2 separate regions of the Homo sapiens genome follow, and region 2 is linked to region 1. The links are contacts of gene promoters, found by promoter capture Hi-C in blood cells and fetal thymus (Javierre and others, 2016). All regions are on one chromosome and are shown on one strand. Each heading gives the region's core, a stretch centred on a gene start or on the middle of the fragment in contact. The rest is flanking DNA. Distances are from core to core; before and after follow the strand shown.

What was found. The method cuts DNA at HindIII sites, captures the fragments that hold promoters and counts their contacts. A CHiCAGO score of 5 or more calls a contact.
Region 2: a contact is called between a fragment that was not itself captured here and the fragment with the promoter of TESMIN in region 1, in 1 of 17 cell types (endothelial precursors). The highest score is 5.8, in endothelial precursors.

The regions. Positions count from the first base shown.
Region 1 is chr11:68,749,164-68,753,478 of GRCh38, forward strand. It overlaps TESMIN (testis expressed metallothionein like protein), which reads right to left and starts at 2,357. Exons shown (of 10, transcript NM_004923.3): 1 at 2,257-2,357; 2 at 1,027-1,536. The coding sequence starts at 1,497. RefSeq lists an enhancer at 1,484-2,469 and silencers at 2,170-2,459, 2,470-2,589. The HindIII fragment of the contact is 16,735 bases long and covers 1-4,315 here.
Region 2 is chr11:68,646,782-68,651,096 of GRCh38, forward strand. No RefSeq gene overlaps it. Among named protein-coding and RNA genes, the nearest start is that of GAL, 36 kb to the right of the region's middle. The HindIII fragment of the contact is 1,260 bases long and covers 1,668-2,927 here.

The DNA of each region.
Region 1 (4,315 bases), core at 1,107-3,606:
AAAGACCTCTGTCCTGGGAAACGGCTGGGGGAACTGGTGAGCTCTATGGCTCCTCTGAGGACAAACAGAGGTCAGTGGAGGCCCCAGCCTCTGCCCATCCTTTTCCTGTACACTAAGGACTGGCAATTACCATAACAGAAAACCGGAAGAGCAGAAATCCAAGCTCCTGCTGCTCTGGCTTATGATACAGGGTCAGGCTCCAGCCATCTCAATACTGACTCAAGCATTGTGTCCCACAAACGCTTCATCTACAACTTACTAAAATGACCTCATGGATGAGTGGTCTCGTTTTCTGAGCTGGGTCCTTTTTGAGGGGTCGAGAACACATTTTCCTGGGACCCTTTGTTTCCTTTGAAAACTCATTAGTTTTGGCAAGAACAAAGCGGAAAATTATCAGCGGTCATCTACAGCTAGAGAGGGCAGTCGGCTGAGAGCTGGCAAGCATTTCTTTAGGCTCTGATTTACATTGCATATGCTTGAAGAGCTATTACTCATTAGCAAAGGGAAGATCTCACATCTTGACTTCAAGGCCCGGAAAATCCAAGTATTAACTCTGAGTCCTTGCTGTGGATTCCAAGCCTGGTAAAGTTAAAGGAAAAAAAAAATGCAAGATGCAAACACGCCAACCCTCCACCACATTGCGTTTGTTTTCACAGACAATAGTTACCAGCAGACAGCGGGCCTCTCTCCTTAAGCCAAGGATAGCAACAGGGCCCAAGGGAACCTACGTCCTAGCTTTCCCCCTTTTTTTGTTGTCCGCCGTCTGCATGGTTAGGTCAGCTTTGGACGACTGGTGCAGGGCAGAATTCCCTCCAGGGGAAAGGGCTTGGCTGGGCCGATGCATGTTGGATTAGGAAGACGACAAAGAGTATACGCTCTACCGAGAATCAGTGACTCCGGTGGGCTGTGTGTGGTGTCACCAGGGAAAATGCTTGTAGAGGGAAATCCTGGGGTACACTAGCAGCCTCAGATGGGTTGGGGAAGGGATGGAGGGGGAGCTGTGCCCATTCCCCAGGCGGTTCTTACTGGGATCATGCGGACGCCCGGGTGGGAGGCTCCTTCCAGGACCCAGGCGCCCAGGGGCAACACCGCCGGGCTGCGGTGCGCGGGTAGCAGCGAGGACAGGAAGTGCACGTTGCAGGCGGGCGGCTGCGGGGCCTGCAGGAGCGCGACGTCCTCCAGCGCGCTGAGCTCTGGGATCCCGGGGTACTCCCCGAGGAGCTCCCCGCCGTCGCTGTCGCCCCCCGCGAGCTTCGCCTTGACCTGGCCCTTGCAGTCGGCGCCCAGCGCGGGGTTGAACGCGTGCAGGACGGGTTCCTTGGGGTCCGCCGGGCCCAGGTACGCTTCTTTGAAGACGTGGAACTCGTCCTCCTCGTACTTCACGGGGGCCTTCAGGCCGATGTTCTCCGAAGCGAACGGACCCTCGGGGCTTAAGAGCTCCGTCACCATCGCATCCTCGGGGCTGGGCAGCCCGCCCGGCAGAGGGCCCTCCTCCATGGCGCAGGGCGGCGGGGCGGGATGGCGGGGGCCGCGCACCTGCAACACGCGGCCAGGTGAGAGGCAGCCAGAGGAGAGGACGAGGGGAGGGGCGGCCAGGAAAGGGGACAGCCAAGGGAGGGGCAGCCAAGGGAGGGGCGGCCAGGGGAGGGGACCAGGTGAGGGGCGGCTAGGGGAGGGGGCGGCCTGGTGAGGGAGGGCCAGGTGAGGGGCCCGGGGAAGGGCGACCAGGTGAGGGGGTCAGGGGAGGGGCGACCAGATGAGGGGCGATTAGGTGAGGGGCGGCCAGGTGAGGGGCGGCCAGGTGAGGAGCGACCAGGGGAGGCGGTCAGGTGAGCGGCGACCAGGGGAGGGGCGGCCGGGGAGGGGGTCACGGGAGGGGCGACCAGGGGAGGGGCGGCCAGGGGAGGGGGCCAGGTGAGGGGCGGCCAGGTGAGGAGCGACCAGGGGAGGGAGTCAGGGGAGGGGCGACCAGGTAAGGGGCGGCCAGGAGAGGGGCCGGCCGGGGTGGGGGTCAGGTGAGGGGCGCCCAGGGGAGGGGGCCAGGTGAGGGGCGGCCGAGGAGGGGGTCAGGTGAGGAGCAGCCAGGGGAGGGGGGGCCAGGTGAGGTGCGACCAGGTGAGGGGCGGCCTCGCCCACGGCCCGCCGCCCTCCGCCCACCCGCAGGGGCCCGACCCGGCCCGGCAGCCCCCATCCCCGCCTGCAGAGCCGAGGCCCAGCCCGGGGACCGCCCCGTCATTCCTCCTCGGAGGGACGCACCTGGGGCCGCCGGGGCTGCCGCAGCGTGGAGCGAGCGGGATGGGGCGTGGGCCGGGCCTCAGGCGCAGGCGGCCGTTGGCGGTTGGAGAAGGGGGAAGGGTGAGGGACAGGAACCTGGGGGGAGGGGAAGAGGCGCCCGGGCAGTGGGCGGGGCCTGGGCGTGGGGCGGAGTCGAGGTCGGGGCGGGGAGGTAAAGGCGGGGCCAGGGAGGTGTGGTGGGCGTGGTCTGGGGCGGGAGGAGACAGAGTCGCGAGGGGCGGGGCCTGGACTGCCGCTGTTGCCAGAGCGGGTCAGGGGAGGCACTCCCAGGTTCAGCCGATCCAGGCTCAGGTGGGGAAACTGAGGTCCCCATCAACTCGGGCAGCGCTAAGTGGGACTGCCTAGCTTGGCTTCTGACCTTGGGCTTCAGTTATATTTTTCTGGCCAGGCGTGGTTGCTCACGCCTGTAGTCCCAGCACTTTGGGAGGCCGAGGCAGGCGGATTACTTGAGGTCAGGAGTTCAAAACCAGCCTGGGCAACATGGTGAAACCCCGTCTCTACTAAAAATACAAAAATTAGCTGGCCGTGGTGGCACGCGCCTGTAATCCCAGCTACTTGGAAGGCTGAGGCAGGAGAATCGCTTGAGCCCGGGAGGTGGAGGTTGCAGTGAGCCGAGATCCCGCCACTGCACTCCAGCCTGTGCCACAGAGCTAGACTCCGTCTCAAAAAAATAAATAAAATAAAATAAAACATTTTTCTACACTCGAGCTCTCAAGACAGATCCCGGCCTGGGACGCTGCGGGTGGACAGAGGGCAGGGGCTTGCACCGCACGTTCCCAGCCTTGCACCCACTCCCGGTCCTTGGTGACGCAGCTTACAGGTGCAACTGATGGAGTTGGTCCCGAAATAGAAGTAACAAATACGGCTGGGCGTGGTGGCTCACGTCTGTAATCCCAGCACTTTGGGAGGCCGAGGCGGGTGGATCACCTGAGGTCAGGAGTTCGAGACCAGCCTGGCCAACATATAGTGAAACTCCGTCTCTACTAAAAAATACAAAAACTAGCTGGGCGTAGTGGCGCACGCCTGTAGTCCCAGCTACATAGAAGGCTGAGGCTTGAACCTGGGAGATGGGGGTTGCAGTGAGCTGAGATTGTGTCACTGTACTCCAGCCTGACCAACAGAGAAAGGCTCCCTCTCAGAAAAAAAAAAAAAAACTCACAAATACAATGAAAGTCTCAAATTTTGGGTGGGGAATGAGCTATTTCATCTTTAAGGAGTCAATAGATATCACTGTTTAATCAAGAGGAGGTGAAAGTTTAATTCAAGTGATGGCGAAAACTGCAAAGGGTGTAGAGGGACTGGTGGGAGTGGGTGCTGGGGAGACAGCCTCAGGTACTGTCTACTCAGGTACTGTTTTGGTAAAAATAAAGAATGTAAAACATCAGCTTTCTAATCTCACTTTTAAAAATTAAATACTTTTCTAAATTTTTAAAGGGTAGTACCCAAGGCACAGCAACACCGTGTACTATTTAGTTGTACATTTAACATTCAAAAATCAAGAAAATTTTGCCTGGGGCTGGGCGTGGTGGCTCATGCCTGTAATCCCAGCACTCTGGGAGGCCAAGGTGGTCAGATCACTTAAAGTCAGGAGTTCAAGACCAGCCTGACTAACATGGTGAAACCCTGTCTCTACTAAAAATACAAAATTAGCTAGGCATGGTGGTGCACACCTGCAATCCCAGCTATTTGTGAGGCTGAGGCAGGAGAATTGCTTGAACCTGGGAGGCGGAGGTTGCAGTGAGCTGAGATTGCACCATTGTACTTTAGCCTGGGCAAAAAGATTGAAACTCCATCTCAAAAATCAAACAAACAAAAACAACAACAACAAAAAACACTCACAGAAGCAGAAAAAATAATAAAAATAATAAATCGAAGAGCCCAAGAATTATGCATAGCTTGAGTGGCCCAAGCGAGAGAGTAACCCACAAGGTTGCACCGTTCATTCGTTTACTAATCAGAATCAGACGTCTACTGAGTAGCATCATGCCAGGCATACACAGCCACCTGTGGGGGTCACCCA
Region 2 (4,315 bases), core at 1,048-3,547, 100 kb before region 1:
CTTTTTTGTAGCTTCCATTTCTTTGTTGAGGTTCCCCTCTGTTTATTCATTAAGACTATATTTTACTTTAATTATCTGATCATATTTAAAATAGCAGCTTTGAAGTCTTTGTCTATGAAATCTAACCTTTGGGTCCATTCAGAATCCACTTCTATTCACTGTCTTTTTCCTAAATATGGATCATACATTCTTGTTTCTTTGTATGTCTAGTTATTTTTTGTTGGTAACTGGACATTGTAGGTAGTATTTTGTAGCAACTTTGGATTCTGTTATGTTCTTCTGAAGATTGTTGGGTTTTGTTCCAGTAGGCAGTTAACTTGCTTGATCTGAAACTGTAGAGTCTGCCTCCTCCACAGTGTGTAGTGGCTGATGTCTCTGCTCAGCTTTTCAACTTCCAGCTGTAGTCTTTGTAGCCAACCCTTTGCACCCGTATGCTCAATATTTAGCCAAGGATTTGAGCAGAGTTTATGTTCAGATTTGGCAGCTCACCCTCTCTGTAGTTCCCTTGCTTTGGGGGTTCACCCTTAATTTTCCAGCTGCTCAGCCAGCCCTACACTTTGTCTTCTGACACCTCAAACCAATAAGGATTCAACTTTCTGCCATGCATGCTGTGCATGATTTGGGGAATACATGCACTCAAAGGAGCAGAAAACTCACGAATATCACCTAGTCCTCTTATATCTTTCAGGGTAGACTCCTCTCTCATATCTCCCTCATTTTTCACCAAGCTTCCTCAAGTCTCTGATACGTGTTTGTAGTTTGATGGCCATCCAAGGATTGGGGCAGAGTTTAGACTCAGATTTGGGTCTCACCCCTTCTACAGCTCTCTTGTTTCAGGATTTCTTCCCTACATTTCCAGCTCCTCTGCCAGCCTTGTCCTCTGTATTCTCCCACCTTGAGCTTGGAAGACTGTGGCGCCATGGCCATGACTGTGGGGTTAGGAGCGTGCTGAGGCAAAGGGCTGGCCTTTAATTGCCTGCATCAGGTCATCATTGGCTGTGATTTCCGTCAGCTGAGGGCACTTCTGTATTGAGGGGAAAGCAGTGAGAGGTTAACAGCCAATGTTCACAGCAGCTGGGGGCTAGGGTGTACTAGGCTGGTCTAGGAGATTTGGGCAGGTACCAGTGGTAGTGAGAAAGAGTCCGTTCCAACTCTGCTTTGGAGATAAGTTGGGGCCAATTGCCCTGAAATTAGATTCCTCCAAAGAATCTCTGCTATGTGCCCCACTCGTGACCCTCCTTTCTGCTTGCCTCCTGACATATTCTTTGTTTTTTTTTTTCTGGAGACAAAGTCTTGCTTTGTCACCTAGGTTGGAGTGCCGTGGCCCCATCTTGGCTCACTTCAGCCCCTGCCTCCTGAATTCAAGCAATTCTCATGCCTCAGCCTTCCAAGTAGCTGGGATTACAGGCACACACCACCATGCCCGGCTAATTTTTGTATTTTTAGTAGAGATGGGGTTTCACCATGTTGGCCAGGCTGGTCCCTAACTCCTGACCTCAAGTGATCCATGCACCTTGGCCTCCCAAATTGCTGAGATTATAGGTATGAGCCAACACGCCCGGCCCTCCTGACATGTTCTTTTTAAACCAAGAGGGAAACTGAAGTTTTCTCTCTGAGAACCCACACCTCTGCTTCTGGGTCCCTGGGGCTGAGGGATCACTATGAAAAGCTTTATTTCAGGGGATCTGACTTCTCAGCCCCATCAGTCCCATGAACTTTTGCCAACGTCCTTTCTCAGGAATGAAATTAAGCACCCAGGTTTTGTTTCACATAATTCAGCCAGACCCTGCCCCTGCCCCCAAGGGCTTCCTCTGCTCCTGGATGGAGAGAAGATACACAGAGAAAGCACCCAGATGAGTGGCTTCCTTGATGGGGATTTAAAATATTTTATTTTCATAGAATTTCTAGTGCCATAAAAAGGTATATATTTGATTGTTTTGCTTTAATTAATTTATTTATTTATTTTTGAGACAGTCTCACACTGTCGCCCAGGCTGGAGTACAGTGGTGCGATCTCGGCTCACTACAACCTCTGCCTCCCAGGTTCAAGTGATTCTCCTGCCTCAGCCTCCTGAGTAGCTGGGTTACAGGTGCACACCACCACGCCTGGCTAATTTTGTGTTTTCAGTAGAGATGGGGTTTCACCGTGTTGGCCCGGCTGGTCTTGAACTCCTGACCTCAAGTGATCCACCCCCCTCGGCCTCCCAAAGTGCTGGGATTACAGGTGTGACCCACCGTGCTCAGCTTTTGCTTCCTTTTAAAAAGCATTTTGGATTTTAGGGTCTTTCTTTTTCTATCGTGGTATTTCTCCAGTGGAGCCCCCCCTCTGAGTTCTGACCCCAGTTCTTCCATGACATCAGCATTTATCCCTGTTGATAAGCTGCCACATCCTTTAAAAATCAGCCCACCTAAAATGTTCTACCCCAGCAACTCTGTTCTCACCTTTGAAAAGAGCACCCGACTACTGAATGCCAGGAAAAAGCGCATCCTTTTGAGAGAAATGCATATAGCCAAGGATGGAAATCCTGAAAGCAGATGTAAAATCCCCTCCACGTAGAAAATCATAGGCACCAGCGATGCTATTAGATATGTATGACTAATTGCGGTTAATACTCGCTGCTGTCAATTAGCCTCATTAGCACAAGCAATTTGAGCACACGACATTACTTTAATTACCACAAGCAGTTTGTTCATTTGTGGAGAATGTGCATTTCCAAAAAGGTTGCGCTATTTGGAAATTAATCCTAATCTCTTGCATTGTTAAAAATTCAGGCAGATAGGGGAGAAAAAAACTGTAAGCAAAAAAAACTGTAAGCATCCTTGCATTTACAGATACAAAAATAAAAGTGACGAACGTTACACAGTCATTTTTACTATTATTTTTCTACTATTTTATTTTCTCTGCTAAAGCGGACTAGGGTCATTGTAAGCTTTCTTTTCTGAAATCTATGCGTGGGAGGTAAAATGACTGGCATTAGAGCTCAGCCGAGACATTAAGCCCATTAAGGGAGGCAATGCAGAAAAGCCTTCAAATCTGAGCTTTTATTCAACTCACCCCGGGGCCGGGAAAGGGCCGGCGAGGACAGCCCCACCCCACCATACCTTCAACCTTCTTGCTGTGTCCCAGCGAGGACAGTTTCACTCCCACCGGACCCTCCAAGCCTCTTGCCCACGGCTGTGTCCTGGCCGCTGCTTCCTGCCTGGGCCCTGGAGTGCTCCGAGGACCCCTCCCCAAATCCCAGCCACCGCCGCCCTGTTTGGCGTCTCTGATGGAGAGCTGAGCTTCCTGTGTCCTCGGAGCCTGCAGGGATCAGCACCCGCCACGGTAGCTCCCCTTTCCCGCCTGCTCTGCTGGATGCTGGGTTTCAGTCCAGGTCCTTCGGGCGCCCTGGAACCCTCTTCCGCTCCCCGACCTGGGCCTGTCATGGGCCACTTTAGGGCCCTGGATGGCGGCCCTGCTCCCTGGCGCCGCATCAGCCATCCGTGGCAGACTCCCGCCATCCGGATTCTCCCTTTCCTGCCGGCACCTCTCTTCTTGCGAGTGGCCCAGAAGCAGGGGTGGTCGTTCCGCTGGCTCCTGCTGCACACCAGGCCCTGGGGACATCGTGGCCCTGGGGACATCATGGTCCCTGCCTCCATGGAGCTGACGCTCTAGAGGAGCCGGACACAAAAGGCAAAATGAAAGCACGCGAGCTTCATCATCAGCCAGACTACAGGCTTAAAAGAGCGTTGGCGCCACAACTAAAATTCAACTGGCGGTGGGCGCGGTGGCTCACACCTGTAATCCCAGCACTTTGGGAGGCCGAGGCAGCTGGATCACCTGAGGTCAGGAGTTCGAGACCAGCCTGACCAACATGATGAAACATCTCTACTAAAAATACAAAAAAAATTAGTTGTGTGTGGTGGCCGGTGCCTGTAATCCCAGCTACTTGGGAGACTGAGGCAGGGAGAATTGCTTGAACCCAGGAGGTGAAGGTTGCAGTGAGCCGAGATTGCACCACTGCACTCCAGCCTGGGCGACAGAGCAAGACTCCGTCTAAAAAAACAAACAAACAAAAAAATAAATGGAGCTGTAGTTCATAGGGACCCACTCGATGAATTTCTTGGCATGTGTGCCCCTGCAGAGCGGCTCCCAGAACATCAAGCGTCCCGAAGTCCCCACCCTGCTCCTTCCCTGTCCCCCTCCCGAAGGCAGCCCGGCCGAGGGCAAGGCTTGGTGGCTCCCGGGCTCCCGTGCTCTGAGCCTGTGCAATCCTCGTGGGGTGGTGGGTGGCAGGTGGCCGGAGCGCTGCTGTCTTCGTTGCTCTGCAGTGTTC